Regions from separate parts of the Homo sapiens genome. Here region 1 is linked to region 2. Evidence: promoter capture Hi-C in 16 types of primary human blood cells and fetal thymus (Javierre and others, 2016). All regions are on one chromosome and are shown on one strand. The core of a region is centred on a gene start or on the middle of the fragment in contact, and the rest is flanking DNA. Distances in the headings are between cores, read along the strand shown.

The links. Contacts are between HindIII fragments. The CHiCAGO score rates a contact against its expected background, and 5 or more counts as called.
Region 1: a fragment that was not itself captured here is called in contact with the fragment with the promoter of NTN4 in region 2 in 1 of 17 cell types (endothelial precursors); the score reaches 6.0 in endothelial precursors.

Annotation. Positions count from the first base shown.
Region 1 is chr12:95,566,268-95,572,895 of GRCh38, reverse strand. No RefSeq gene overlaps it. Among named protein-coding and RNA genes, the nearest start is that of USP44, 18 kb to the right of the region's middle. The HindIII fragment of the contact is 4,783 bases long and covers 1,169-5,951 here.
Region 2 is chr12:95,787,813-95,794,578 of GRCh38, reverse strand. It overlaps NTN4 (netrin 4), which reads left to right and starts at 3,815. Exons shown (of 10, transcript NM_021229.4): 1 at 3,815-4,324. The coding sequence starts at 4,270. It also overlaps the pseudogene RNU6-247P. The HindIII fragment of the contact is 5,039 bases long and covers 1,347-6,385 here.

The DNA of each region.
Region 1 (6,628 bases), core at 2,311-4,810, 220 kb after region 2:
AGACACGCAGCATATTACAGTGAAAAGAGCAAGGACTTAAAGCCAAGGCATTCATCCCATGGGAATTTTTAGTTCTAATGCCACTGTAGCCACTTTCTAGCTGAGTGATTTTAAAGAGTTATCTAACCACAGATTCCTCATCTGTAAAATGGGGATAATAAAATCTAACTTGTAAGGATTAGGAACATTGTAGATGTCCAACAAATGGGGTGTGTGCATGTGTATATGCATAAATTACCTCAGCCTCCCTCTGAGATGAGAGAGTGAGATAAAACACAATGTACTAGCCCAGGCACAGTGGCTCATATATGTAATCACAGCACTTTGGGAGGTTGAGGCAGGAGGATCGCTTGAGCCCAGGAGCTGCAGACCAGCCTGAGCAACATGGAGAAACTCTGTTCCTACAAAAAATTCAAAAATTAGCTGGGCATGGTGATGGGCCACTGTGGTCCTAGCTACTCAGGAGGCTTTGTCTTTAGATTGCTTAATCTTCATTTGTTTTTATTATAACAAAAATAAGCTTTGTTTAGAAGTCCCTTGGACAGCCAGGTGCAGTGGCTCACACCTGTAATCCCAGCACTTTGGGAGGCTGGGGAGGGAGGATCGCTTGAGGCAGGAGTTCAAGATTAGCCAGGGCAACCTAACAAGACCCCATCTCTACAAAAATTTAAAAACAAAATAGCAGGGCATGGTGGGGCTCCCGTGTAATCCCAGACACTCAGGAGGCTGGGGTGGGAAGATCACTTGAGCCCAGGAGTGTGAGGCTACAGTGAGCTGTGATGGTACCACTGCACTGCAGCCTGGGTGACAGAGCAAAACCCTCTATCTGGAAAAACAAAAAGATTCTTGGTTGGTGATGTTTCCTCAGAAATCAAATCCACTTCTGACCCTAAGCTGCATAAGACATATGCAGGGGAGACAAGGAGAAAGTCGTTTGTTCAATGCAGACTTGGAGGGCAAACATAGGCCCAGAGGGTAAATATCACAATGAAGCAAATTTTGGTTTTCTCTAAAGGAGAAATTTCTAGTAACAGGAGGAGGTTACTAAGTCACCAAATCCTGGAGGAAACAGCTCTGCCTTGGTATCAGGAAGCTAAGTAACCCACTGTGGCTCAGTCATTTCACCCTCAACTTCAACTTTCCCAACTGCAAAATTCAGACTAAAGCTTTTATCTTTACTGTTTTGGGTGCCAGTGCTTACCAGGACACTTCCTGTATCACTGAGTCTACAGAAGAAATTGATATATGACCATCAATACATTTCACATCAAATAAAGATAGAGGAAATGATGATACAGTTCAGATCAGGAAGAGGAAGTAAAACCTTGTTTATAAACCAGTTGATCCCCACCTGCATCCTTATAATGAGTAGTGTAGAGAACACATACATCTCGGTCTCTTTTTTACATTTTTTTTTTAGAGATAGGGTCTCACTCTGCCACCCAGCTGGAGTGCAATGGTGCAATCTTAGCTCACTGCAGCCTTGATCTCCCAGGCTCAAGCGATCCTCCCATCTCAACCTCTCAAGTAGCTGGGACTACAGGCGTGCCACCATGTTCAGCTTTTTTTTTTTTTTTTTTTTTTTTTTTTTTTTTTTTTTTTTTTTTTTTTTTTTTTATGTTTAGTAGAGACGAGGTCTTGCTATGTTGCCCAGGCTGGTCTCAAACTTCTAAACTCAAGCAATCCTCTTGCCTGGGCCTCCAAAGTGCTGAGACTACAAGCATGAGCTACCATGCCCAGTGAGAGCATATACATTTCTCTTTCTCCCTGAGCCCTTTCTCATCTGTTATTCTGCTCATTCTCCAAGGTCATCAGTTAAGAAGTAAATTATGGTAGAAGAGATTCTATAAATTATGATAGAAGAACATCTCAATCAATTTGGACACCTTAACATGTAAGTCAGGCCGGGTGTGGTAGCTCATGCCTGTAATCCCAGCACTTTGGGAGGCCGAGGCGGGCGGATCATGAGGTCAGGGGTTCGAGACCAGCCTGACCAACATGGTGAAACCCCGTCTCTACTAAAAATACAAAAATTAGCTGGGCGTGGTGGTGGGCGCCTGTAATCCCAGCTACTCAGGAGGCTGAGGCAGGAGAATTGCTTGAACCCGGGAGGCAGAGATTGCAGTGAGCCGAGATCGCGCCACTGCACTCCAGCCTGGGCGACAGAGCGAGACTCGTCTCAAAAAACAAAACAAAACAAAACAAAACAAAACAAAAAACCCATTATTTTCACAAGTAGATACATTGGGGGGTGAGAAGTTGTAATAACTATTCCACAAAAAAGTCACTTTCATGCCATCTATAAGGTAAACTATAAAAGAACAATGGCTGGTCATGAGAAGACTTGCTTTCTAATTCCAGATCTGATGCTTGCTGTGTGGCTTCAGACAAGTCACTTAATACTATAATTTCCTCAGCTATATAATGCTAAGTATGAAGAAAGAGGATCTGTATGAAAATCCTTTGCGAGGTAGAAATTGCTCTGCAATGAAAAACATCATTACTAATGCATAATTCTTCTTTTCCTCATTCCATTTATATTGGAATAATGCCATTAATATATCTTTGGGATAACTCATATTTCTCTCTTCCCTCCATTGATTTATTCATGAAATGACTGAAGGCATTTTGGTAGATAAAGAAAAGACAAGTGACAATAACCTGTTACAGGATTAAAGCCAAATGGCTGTGTAAAAAAGGGTACATTAAATGATCAAATCAAAGACTATACATTTGCTATTTGTAAGACAAATACTGCATCTTTATGGGTTTTCAGATCCATCAGTTAAATAACAAAGTAGTGGTATAACATACTCAAGAGGTTTAATATAACATTAAATGAAGGCTGACAACCATGAAAACCATTTATCATTGTATTTAAACCACTAATTTCAGATTAAATTTAAAACACTTAATTCCTAATTGTTAGCACTGACATGCCAACAAAAATCTTAAGGAAATATTTTGTAGCTAGATCACACCATTGTTACACATTTGCTTGAGAAAACAAAGTATGTATGTAATTAAAGTATGTAACTAAATCCTACCTTATCATTATGGTGCCTTCAATAAGATCCACTCTGCCAAAAATTGAACAATTTATAATACATAGTTTAATTGGAAATTTTTATTGTCATCTGTCAAATTCTGAGACTATACTTTTTGATGTAGTGTATGTGGTTAGAGCATTCTCTGAATAAATCCAAGGTTGCATGGCCATTCTTACAGGAGCCACTTAACTTGAAAAGGGAGAAAAAAAAATCAGTGGCATATCACAACTTGCTATCTAGCCACCTTCTCTGATTTTGGTGAAAGTGATTCAAAGGTGACCAGGTAATTGTAAATGGACAGCCTGGGTAGAAAAATTACTTGAAATGACATCTTTCCAAATGTACAGTACTTCCCAAAACTACAGATAAATGGAATAAAACAAAGTCTAGTTAATCTAAATATAAACAACATAGTATGCTGTGATCCAGTTAGAAAAAACTTTTTCTTCTTTTCCGTTGCAAAATCTAACATTTCCCAGAGCAGATCCTGTTCTGGTGTGTGAATTTGAACCCGTTGATTAAATTTTGAGCATGTTTCCTCAACTGTAAAATGGGGATAATAATACCGATCTCCTCAGGGTTGCTGTGGAAATTACAGTAAGCAGTGAAGGAAAGATGACTACTAAGTAAAAGGAGTAACAATTACAGTAGGAGCAGCAGCAGCCACAGTTCTCATTCTGTCCGGATGCATCCAGGATGATGTATGGTCTGACAGTGAAAATGAAGAGAATGTTTCAAGAAAAGAAGCACGATCAGCGTTGGCAAATAGTGAAGTAAAATCAGTGGCTTTTGAATTTGACAAGAAAGGAATTGTTGGTAGCTTTGTTTCAAGAGAACATTTCCAAAGCAGTAAGAGGGGAAGCCTCAGTGTAGGCAGCTAAGGAAGAAGCAAACATAAAGAAAATGGAGGCAGTGGCCGGGCGCGGTGGCTCACGCCTGTAATCCCAGCACTTTGGGAGGCCGAGGCCGGCGCATCACGAGGTCAGGAGATCGAGACCATCCTGGCTAACATGGTGAAACCTGGTCTCTACTAAAAATACAAAAAATTAGCCAGGCAAGGTGGCGGGCGCCTGTAGTCCCAGCTACTCAGGAGGCTGAGGCAGGAGAATGGCGTGAACCCGGGAGGCGGAGCTTGCAGTGAGCCGAGAGCCGAGATTGCGCCACTGCACTCCAGCCTGGGTGACCGAGCGAGACTACGTCTCAAAAAAAAAAAAAAAAAAAAAAAAAAAAAGACAGAAAAGAAAGAAAAGAAAAAGAAAACAAAATGGAGGCAGCAGGTATAAACCGGAGGTTTTCAACATTTTGTATTCACCAATAACTATTATAGAGTCATGATTTTAAAATATCAGAGAAAGGCTGGGCGCGGTGGCTCATGCCTGTAATCCCAGCACTTTGGGAAGCCGAGGCGGGCAGATCACTTGAGGTCAGGAGTTGGAGACCAGCCTGGCCAACATGGTGAAACCCTGTCTCTACCAAAAATACAAAAAAAAAAAAAAAAAAGAGAGAGAGAGAGAGCCGGATGTGGTGGCGCACTCCTGCAGTCCCAGCTACTTGGAAAGCTGAGGCGGGAGAATCAGTCAAACCCAGGAGGTGGAGGCTGCAGTGAGCTGAGATTGCACCACTGCGCTCTAGCCTGGGTGACAGAGTGAGATTCTGTCTCATAAAAAAAAAAAGAAGAAGAAGAAGAGAGAGAGAGAGAGAGAAATGTATGTTTCTGAACTTTTTTTGTTTTTTGTTTTTTTTGAGACGGAGTCACGCTCTGTCGCCCAGGCTTGAGTGCAGTGGTGTGACCTCGGCTCACTGCAAGCTCTGCCTCCCAGGTTCACGCATTCTCCTGCCTCAGCCTCCCGAGTAGCTGGGACCACAGGCGCCCGCCACCACGCCCAGCTAATTTTTTTGGTATTTTTAGTAGAGACGGGGTTTCACCGTGTTAGCCAGGATAGTCTCCATCTCCTGACCTCGTGATCCGCCTGCCTCGGCCTCCCAAAGTGCTGGGATTACAGGCGTGTGCCACCACGCCGGGCCTGAACTTTTTATTAAAGCTCTCGTTTACAGAAAGTTACAGGATTGAGAAAAATACGACTGAGACCGTCTTATTGCCATGGCTGTAAGTCATAAACAAGAAAAATGTTCCATTAGTGGTTGACAATATATAAAACTATTGAGGATATATTTTGCTGTCATTATTACTTCAGAGCCCATTGATAATTAATACAAACTGGTAAGTGAAGTCGGCAGGGGGAGGCGAGCCATATCTCTAAGTAGATTGGAGATTGAAAGAGAATGCATTTAGGCCGGGCGCAGTGGCTTACGCCTGTAATCCCAGCACTTTGGGAAGCCAAGGTGGGCAGATCACGAGGTCAGGAGATCGAGACCATCCTGGCTAACATGGTGAAACCCCGTCTCTACTAAAAATACAAAAAATCAGCTGAGTGTGGTGGCGGGCGCCTGTAGTCCCAGATACTCGGGAGGCTGAGGCAGGGGAATGGCGTGAACCCGGGAGGCGGAGCTTGTAGTGAGCCGAGATTGCGCCACTGCCCTCCAGCCTGGGCGACAGAGCAAGACTCCGTCTCAAAAAAAAAAAAAAAAAAGAAAAGAAAAAGAAAGAAAGAAAGAATGCATTTGTAGTGAAACACAGTATGCCCACTAGATTACTGCTATACCACTGAAATCTGCTAATACAGTTTTCTCACTGATGACGTAAGGAAGAAGAGGAATAATGTGGTTGAGACAGGAAGCAATCGGCCAAGCAATTTCTTTCAAGATATGGATAAATATGCATGCTTGAAAGCCGAAGGTAAGGGGCCAGTGAACAGGAAGAGAACGCAGAGAAGAGGAAGGGTATCTGCTTGAAGGTGATGTCTGTGTGTGGGGCGGGGGAGAGGAGGAAGGGGGAAAGCTTAGCAACAAAGTATCTCATGTATTAAGACAGCATAAGTCTTAATTCAGTAACAGTAGCAACTCCATATATTGAGTACCATTACCATATTAAAGCAGTGTCAAATATCTGTCTTATGCATAGTAACAGGTAGTGCTTAAAAGGTAATTCACATTTTTTAAAAGTCTGTTTTATCGTCACAACATATGTAATTCACATTTGATTTTTACTGGTGTAAGTATAAATCGCAAATTAAGTAGTAACATCATTTATTCACCTTTTGGACCTCAAAATATACCTCAAATTCATGGGACATTCATAGTTTACAAAAGCTTTCACAGAATCCTCACAACTTTGTGAATCTGCAGAGTCAGTTGAGTCTCCCAGGCTGGAGTGCAGTGGCACATCTCAGCTCACTGCAACCTCCACCTCCGGGTTCAAGCAATTCTCCCACACCAGCCTCCCAAGTAACTGGGATTATAAGCATGTGCCACCAAGCCCAGCTAATTTTTGTATTTTTAGTAGAGACCAGGTTTCGCTATATTGGTCAGGCTGGTCTCAAAATCCTGATCTCAAATAATCCGCCTGCCTCAGCCTCCCAAAGTGCTGGGATTACAGGCGTGAGCCACCGTGACCGGCCTATAATTTTCATATTAAGATAAAGAAATTGAGAGTCATGAAGGTTAAATGACATGCGTGA
Region 2 (6,766 bases), core at 2,566-5,065:
TTTTTCAAACTTAGCAGCTTAAATTTGTTGATTTATTCTTCAAATTCATGTTTATTGAATGCTTACTACATGCAATGTATTTTAATGGAAATATTTCCCTCTGGTAAAACAAAATATATTTTACCTTTTATTGATGACTCTGTAAGATACCAATATATGAAAAAAGGATTTTAGCTGACTTCAAATATACCAGCCAACATCACATTAGGTTACAGAAATATAAGCCATAGAGCTAAGTTAAGGAAAATGTTAGTTCTATTCTATGTTGATCAGACAAACCTGGAGTTGAGTTCTACATGCACAGTGTAAGACAAGCTGGGGTATATCTGAAAAGAGGTGATTAAGATGGTGAAAAGTGTGGGAATCCTGTCATATGGGTGTTTAAACTAAAAGGATAGTTAAGATGAAAATTATTAAAACTTTACTTTAAATCATTGAATACCTACCAGAAGAGAAATTGGACTTATTCTGTATGGTTGCAGATGACTAACCTATAAACACAGAATTTTAAGAAGAGAAACATCCCACTTAAATAGAACAACAGTGCCAAAAATGAGCAGAATTGCCTTTGAGGCTCTTGTTTATGGAGATTTTTAGAACAGAAACTGGATGACCTTTGGACAGAGGCTTTGTGGAAAGGGGTTTTGATGGAGTGAGAAGTTGGGCTCAAGGGTCCCTCCTGATTCTGAATGTCTTACGCTCCACTAGGAACCTCACTTACTCTACTAAGTTACCGGAGAGTGATGCCTTTATAGCTTTTTCGTCCTTTGTTTCTGCACTAGAAGGCCTCAGACTGCTGTGGATGTTTTGGTTTTGTTTTTGTACTTATGGCTGCTTTTTAGAGTTTTCCCATCCTTCTCATTACTGGATTGCCTCAGTTTATCCCCTGTCTTTAATAACATCCTGCTCCATTCTAATCTGTTACTTCTAATAGGCTGTGATCTAGAAAGATGTCATAACCAAACTTAATAAAAATACATGAATGATTTAAGTGAGGTCCTGAAGGGCTCTCCTGTGAGTAAAGTCTTTGGTGCAAAGAGTTTTGCCATTTATTTTATTTTATTTATTTTGAGACAAGGTCTCACTCTGTTGCCCAGGCTGGAGTACAGTGGTGCCAACACAGCTCACTGCAGCCTCGACCTCCCAGGCTCAAGCTATCCTCCCACCTCAGCCTCCCAAGTAGCTGGGACCAGAGGCATATGCCACCACGCCTGGCTATGCCATTTATTTTACTTTTTAAAGACCCTTTTAACTTCCTTTCAAGTTCTCAGGAATATTCTAGATTTAACTTATCAATTTTGTGGTTTCTGGGAATTGTTATTGAAATTCTGTAAGTTTGCTAAGCTTCCTACTAATTCATAAAATTACAAAATATTCTGAATCCATGACTGATGTTTTCAAAAACAAAATCATAGGCAATAATATACTTATCCAAGATTTTTCTTATGTAGGTAACCTTTTCTTGGATAGCTTCTTCAAAATGAAAATATCCTTTGTAACTAAACTGGACTATATAAGCAAATGATGTTTATTAGAATGCTGACTATTTTTCTCTCCTGAGCTTTTCATATAGATAGTATTGGTGTCGAATGTGCAGATTCCTTTTGAATATGGGAAATCATTGTGATATAACTGGTTTTCTCCTTAGTCCTTAGTCTCCTTAGCCCCTTAGTATATAACAATAGTTTTAACACAACTCAGTCAAAAACATGTAATGAACACTTATTGTAGGTGTTCTTGGCTAAGAATAAGGAAAAATATCAGAAAAACATAGTAATGTTTTGTATAAACTGAATATTAAAGACTGTTCTACCATTAGAGAGCTTTCTGTCTTGTTAAAGGAAATAAGAGCCAGTTATTCAGCAAAGAAATATATTATCAATGCAGGATTCGTGCAGACAGTAAATGGCTTTGAAATTTGTAATGAGATATGGAGTAGTTCTGTGATTGCTTTGGCAGCACATATGCTAAAATTGGAACAATACAGAGAAGATTAGCATGGCCTCTGCATGAGAATGGCATACAAATTTGTGAAGCATTCTATATTTTTAGCAATATATTGTACTCTTGAAAAATGCTAAGACAGTGAGTGTATTCTTAAATGCATGTTAATATGCAAAAATGCATATGTTCATTGGCTAGATTTAGTCATTCCACGCTGTATACATATTTCAAAACATCATGTTGTACATGATAAATACATACAAGTTTATTTGTTAATTAAAAAACAGAAATGGATTAGTTCTGCCTAAATATACTAGACTCAGAAGTTAATAATAAATGTGCATCCACCCCTTTGTTTAATTTGCCTTGGCTATTAAGTTAACATTTATGCTAAGAACCTTTGGCTGTTATAGTTTCCTATCATTTATTTGGTAAAAAGATTAATTGGAGAGGTGTTTCAATGGCTCCATTAGGAGATATGAAGAAAGCCCCACCATTGCCAGTATTTGGGAACTCAAAGCGTTTATTTTCTAAAGCAGGTGATGCTACATGAATTGCTGTCCACACCTTCTGCTACTTTCCTCTGTTGGCCAGAAGAATAATTTTAATGTCGCCCAAATGGATTATGCTGACCTCAACCCAGATCCCCCTGGGAGATATAAACTTCTTATATGTTCCTGGCTGGGTCATTGTAAATAATATCTACATGTATCCCAAAGCTCTGAATTATCCTCATCTGTAACAGACACAACGACTAAATGGTATCTGGAACGTAGTTAATTTTCTGGAAAATATTCAAAGGAACAAAATGAGCACTGCAATACAAAATTGCTGTCGACTTAACTTTTGCCAGTTTCCCTGGATGTGTAAGTAGAATTATATTTTCACAGAACTTGCAAAAATCTCAGACTCGGCTGCTATTTAATCTCTTTCCAGAAGCACCAGCCCTGAGCAATCCTATCTGCAATTAGCTGCGTGTGGTTGCTACTAAATTGCTCCCCATAAGTTAGTTCCTAACACTGTTTCACAGCACGGCATACTCTATAAAGGGAGAACGCTTGGAAGGACCGAAGAGTTCCCTTTGTCGTGCCCTTGCCCTGCCTCTGGACAACGATGTTCTTACACTGCCGACTAGCTAATCCTGTGACCCTTTTCTTTCAGCACCTTGAGTTTGAGTTAGGCAATACCTCTTACACCAAAGTGGGCACACCTTCGGATCATGTAGGCAGCGATTGTTTAGCCGAGACATCCCCCTACCCCCGCAAAAGGCAGCAGAGAAGCGGCGAACGCCGCTTAGCAGTTGGCGCGCTCTCAGTGCGGGTGACGCGGGGCTGGGTTGGGGTGTTCCGTCCCCGGGTCGTGGGACTCCCCGAGAGGGGGTGGCTGGAGGAGGAGGGAGGGCTTGTTTCGCTGGGGGATGTGGGAAGTAGGCGCTAGCCTGTTTCGCGGTTTTTTAAGCCCCTTGGCATGCCCTGACCTGATCTAGAGGGAGTCTACTGCTCTTAGGAATGTTCCGGGAGAAGGTGGGAGATTGCTTCCCAGGGGAGGCCTGTGGGTGCTGCAGGGCACCAGGGGGGTCACTAGGGAGATGCAGGGCGCGGGCCAGGAGGGGCGCCAGGGCAGCCGGGGGCCAGGCTGAGGCGACCGGGACCAGCGGGCAGCCGGGCGTCGGGGGCGTCGGTCGGGGCGCGGGGGACCCCCCCCCCGGGCGGCAGCGGCAGCGGCGATCCGATCCCGCGGGCTGCGCCGCCCGGGCTGTCAAGCGCGGGGGGCGGGCGGGAGGAAGGGGTGGAGGTGCGAGGGGAGGAGGGCTGGCACCGGAGCGCCGCGGCGTCGGTGCAATAAAAATGCATCGCATGGAACTGCCCGTGGAGAAGGACGGGACGGAGCCGGGGCAGCCAGAAGAGGTGGGAAAAGCGGAGGAGGACGCCCAGGAGGAGGCGGCGGCGGCGGCCGGGAAGTGAAAGGTCTCGCAAAGTTCAGCGGCGGCTGCGGGCGCCGAGCCCCGGGCTAGCGGCAGACGAGCCCGCAGGGCCGCTCCGCGGGGCAGCGCAGCCAGGCCGGCTATGGTCCCGGGGCTCCCGCCGCCCCCCAGGTGCCCGGGACCCGCCAGGCCGGTGCGCGAGGGTCACCCCACCTCCCCGCGCGGTCCCGGCCCCTGGCTCCCAGCTGCCGGCGACCGCTGACCGAGCCCGGCGCCCCAGGAGGAGGAAGAAACCAGGGCCCCGTTCCCTCCCGAGGACGGCGGCGCTTCATCCCGCAGCCCAGAGGTCTCGGCTCCCTCCGGCACCCGCCCGGCCCGGCTGCTCCCGGCTCCTCCCGGCCATGGGGAGCTGCGCGCGGCTGCTGCTGCTCTGGGGCTGCACGGTGGTGGCCGCAGGTGGGTGGTGACGCGGCGGGGCCCCCACCCCTTCCCTCGCTGCTTCTCTAACCCATCTCGGGACTCGGGGGTGCAGGGGAGCCAGGGCTGCGAGCGCAGAGCGCTGCTCCCGAGGGTGAAATGAGTGGCCATGTTCCGCCTCCTTTCCCCGGGGCTCCGCAGTTTCAAATACTATTGATTTATTTTTACAACTGGGATACACATGCGCTTGGATAACCAGCTATCCTGGGTGCGCCCTGCCGGGGATACTGCGACCGGGGTTTCTTTCTTGGTTTGGCTTGTTAAAAAACTGCTTTTCCACTTGGTGAGGGAACAAAGGACCCAGCTCGCCATCCCCCGGCACTTCATGGCCTAAGGAATGATGAGGAGGGGTGGCCCAGCGACCCTGGGCGCGCGTGGGCTGGGGCCGGTCTCTGGTAGAAGCCCATCGCTGGTGTCCCTGACCTGGTGCTGGGTACTAGAGAACCAGGTAAGGACACCTGGGGCAGGGCTGAGCGCCCTCTCCCCGGAGCAGTGACTGGAACGCAGTGGGACTCCTGGCTTGGACGATAGGTGGTGATCACCCCGGGCTTGCATTGAGCTGGCTGGCCGCCCCTGGGGAATTGGTACCCTGGCAGAGACTCTGCGGGAGGTCGGAGGCGGGTCTGCTCCCTGGCTCGGTAACTGGACAACCGGCGTCGGCGTCGGCAGATGCCCTCTCCCTCCCACTCCCATCCTGGCTTTCTTGGGCTGCCCTAGGCCACCGGCTCCTGGCTCGTGGTTTCTGTATTCGGGAGCCCCTTCTGCTCCTCTCCCTCCCTCTTGCGGGTCACCTGGTTTCCAGTTAGGCGTAAGCGCAGCCCTGTAGGTGAGGGGGAGAGATGTGAGGGAGTCTGCAGACATCCAGTCTCTCGTGCGGATCTTGACTGCTTCAGAAAGGGGCGCCTGGGCTAGAGGGATGCGCTGGTGGCTACAGAACATTGTAGCACGCATCTCCTCCCTTGGGCTTCCACTCTTCCCTGAGGGCCGCTGGCACCCAGCAAAATCCAGGCTTTCCAGTCTGCATCCCAAACCAGTCCAAGTCACAGGAGCATCCTTAGTATCATTGAATAGTCCCTTGAGTGACTCCAAGTATTTTGCCCCATGGATTCTTTATCTGGCTCAAATCTTTTCTGGACTTAGGAGTTTAGGGGCATTTAAAATTATTGGATATTTTTCCCAGGGACCTATTAAAGGCCTAAGATTTTACTTTAATTCTTGCACTCTTAAAATATGAGCTTTAAAAAAAACCTTTTCCTTCTCAAACCATATTATGGCAAAAACATGCAAGCCATTGAAAGGTTGTAAATAAACATCACAAGGCAAGTGTTTCAAGTCAAAAATACTTGTACAGGCAGTATATGATTTTCCTTGAAATTTTTTACAGGTGAGTCATAGCACATTGTGTGTTTGTGTGCTTCTGGCCACAAGCAACTGTTGCCCCAGCTAATGAGAAAAGTGGCAAACAGAACCCAGGCATAATGCACACTTTAATTTGACATTTAAAAAATAATGCCTAAGGAAGCCCTTTAGTTGCAAGGCTTCGTGGGGTTGGCCATTGTCAGTGTGTGAAATGTCTCTGTTGCAGCCTAAGCTGTCATTTGGCCTCCTCCAATCCTTACTATGACAACAGTTCAGAGGTACTGCTTCTTAAGCAGCAGAAACATTCAATTAGCCAGAATTTAAGGGTTGATTTCCTTTTCCCTCTTTCCCCCTCTGTTTTAACCTTTAAAATAGATGATTTTTGCTTAAGGTATTCACAATTAAAATGACAAACGCAAATCAAAGGATTATAGTATGTACTCAGAATGTTAATAAGTGGATAATGTTTATCATTTTAAGTCATTTTAAAACATTAAAGTCTGTTGGACCTTTGGGAGGAAAAGTGTGTTTTTTAAAGAAGGTCTTGTAGTTCACAGATAATATTTAAAGGTGCTGTTAGTGGCTGCCAGACTGTAGACACTCTCCTGTTAAGCAAACAGTTAACTACTCTATAACCTGTCACAGGTAGAAACCCTGAAGAGACAGCATGTAAAATAAGCTTTTCTGCCATTTGGCAGTTCAGAGAGTTTTTTTCTTAGTTATGTTTATGTAATGTTAGAAACTGATAGTGCACATCTGAACTCCAAAGGTCTCTAGCTTTGCCTCCCTCTAAATGAGGACCCATTGTATATTTATTAAATATCTCATATTGCTTTTCCTAGGGAATTTATCCCTTCCCTGGCTTAAAAATATAAAGAAAATAGAATTCCACATTTCCTTCTAAATACATTCTCATAATAAACATGTTAAATCATGTGAAGGACTCACATTAAATTTGAAAGACTAACTTAGGTGGTCTTAAAAACATTATGGTTTTTCAATAGTCATGACTTCAAAAACACATCAATGTATTTGAAATACAGAAAACATTTATAAGGCAAA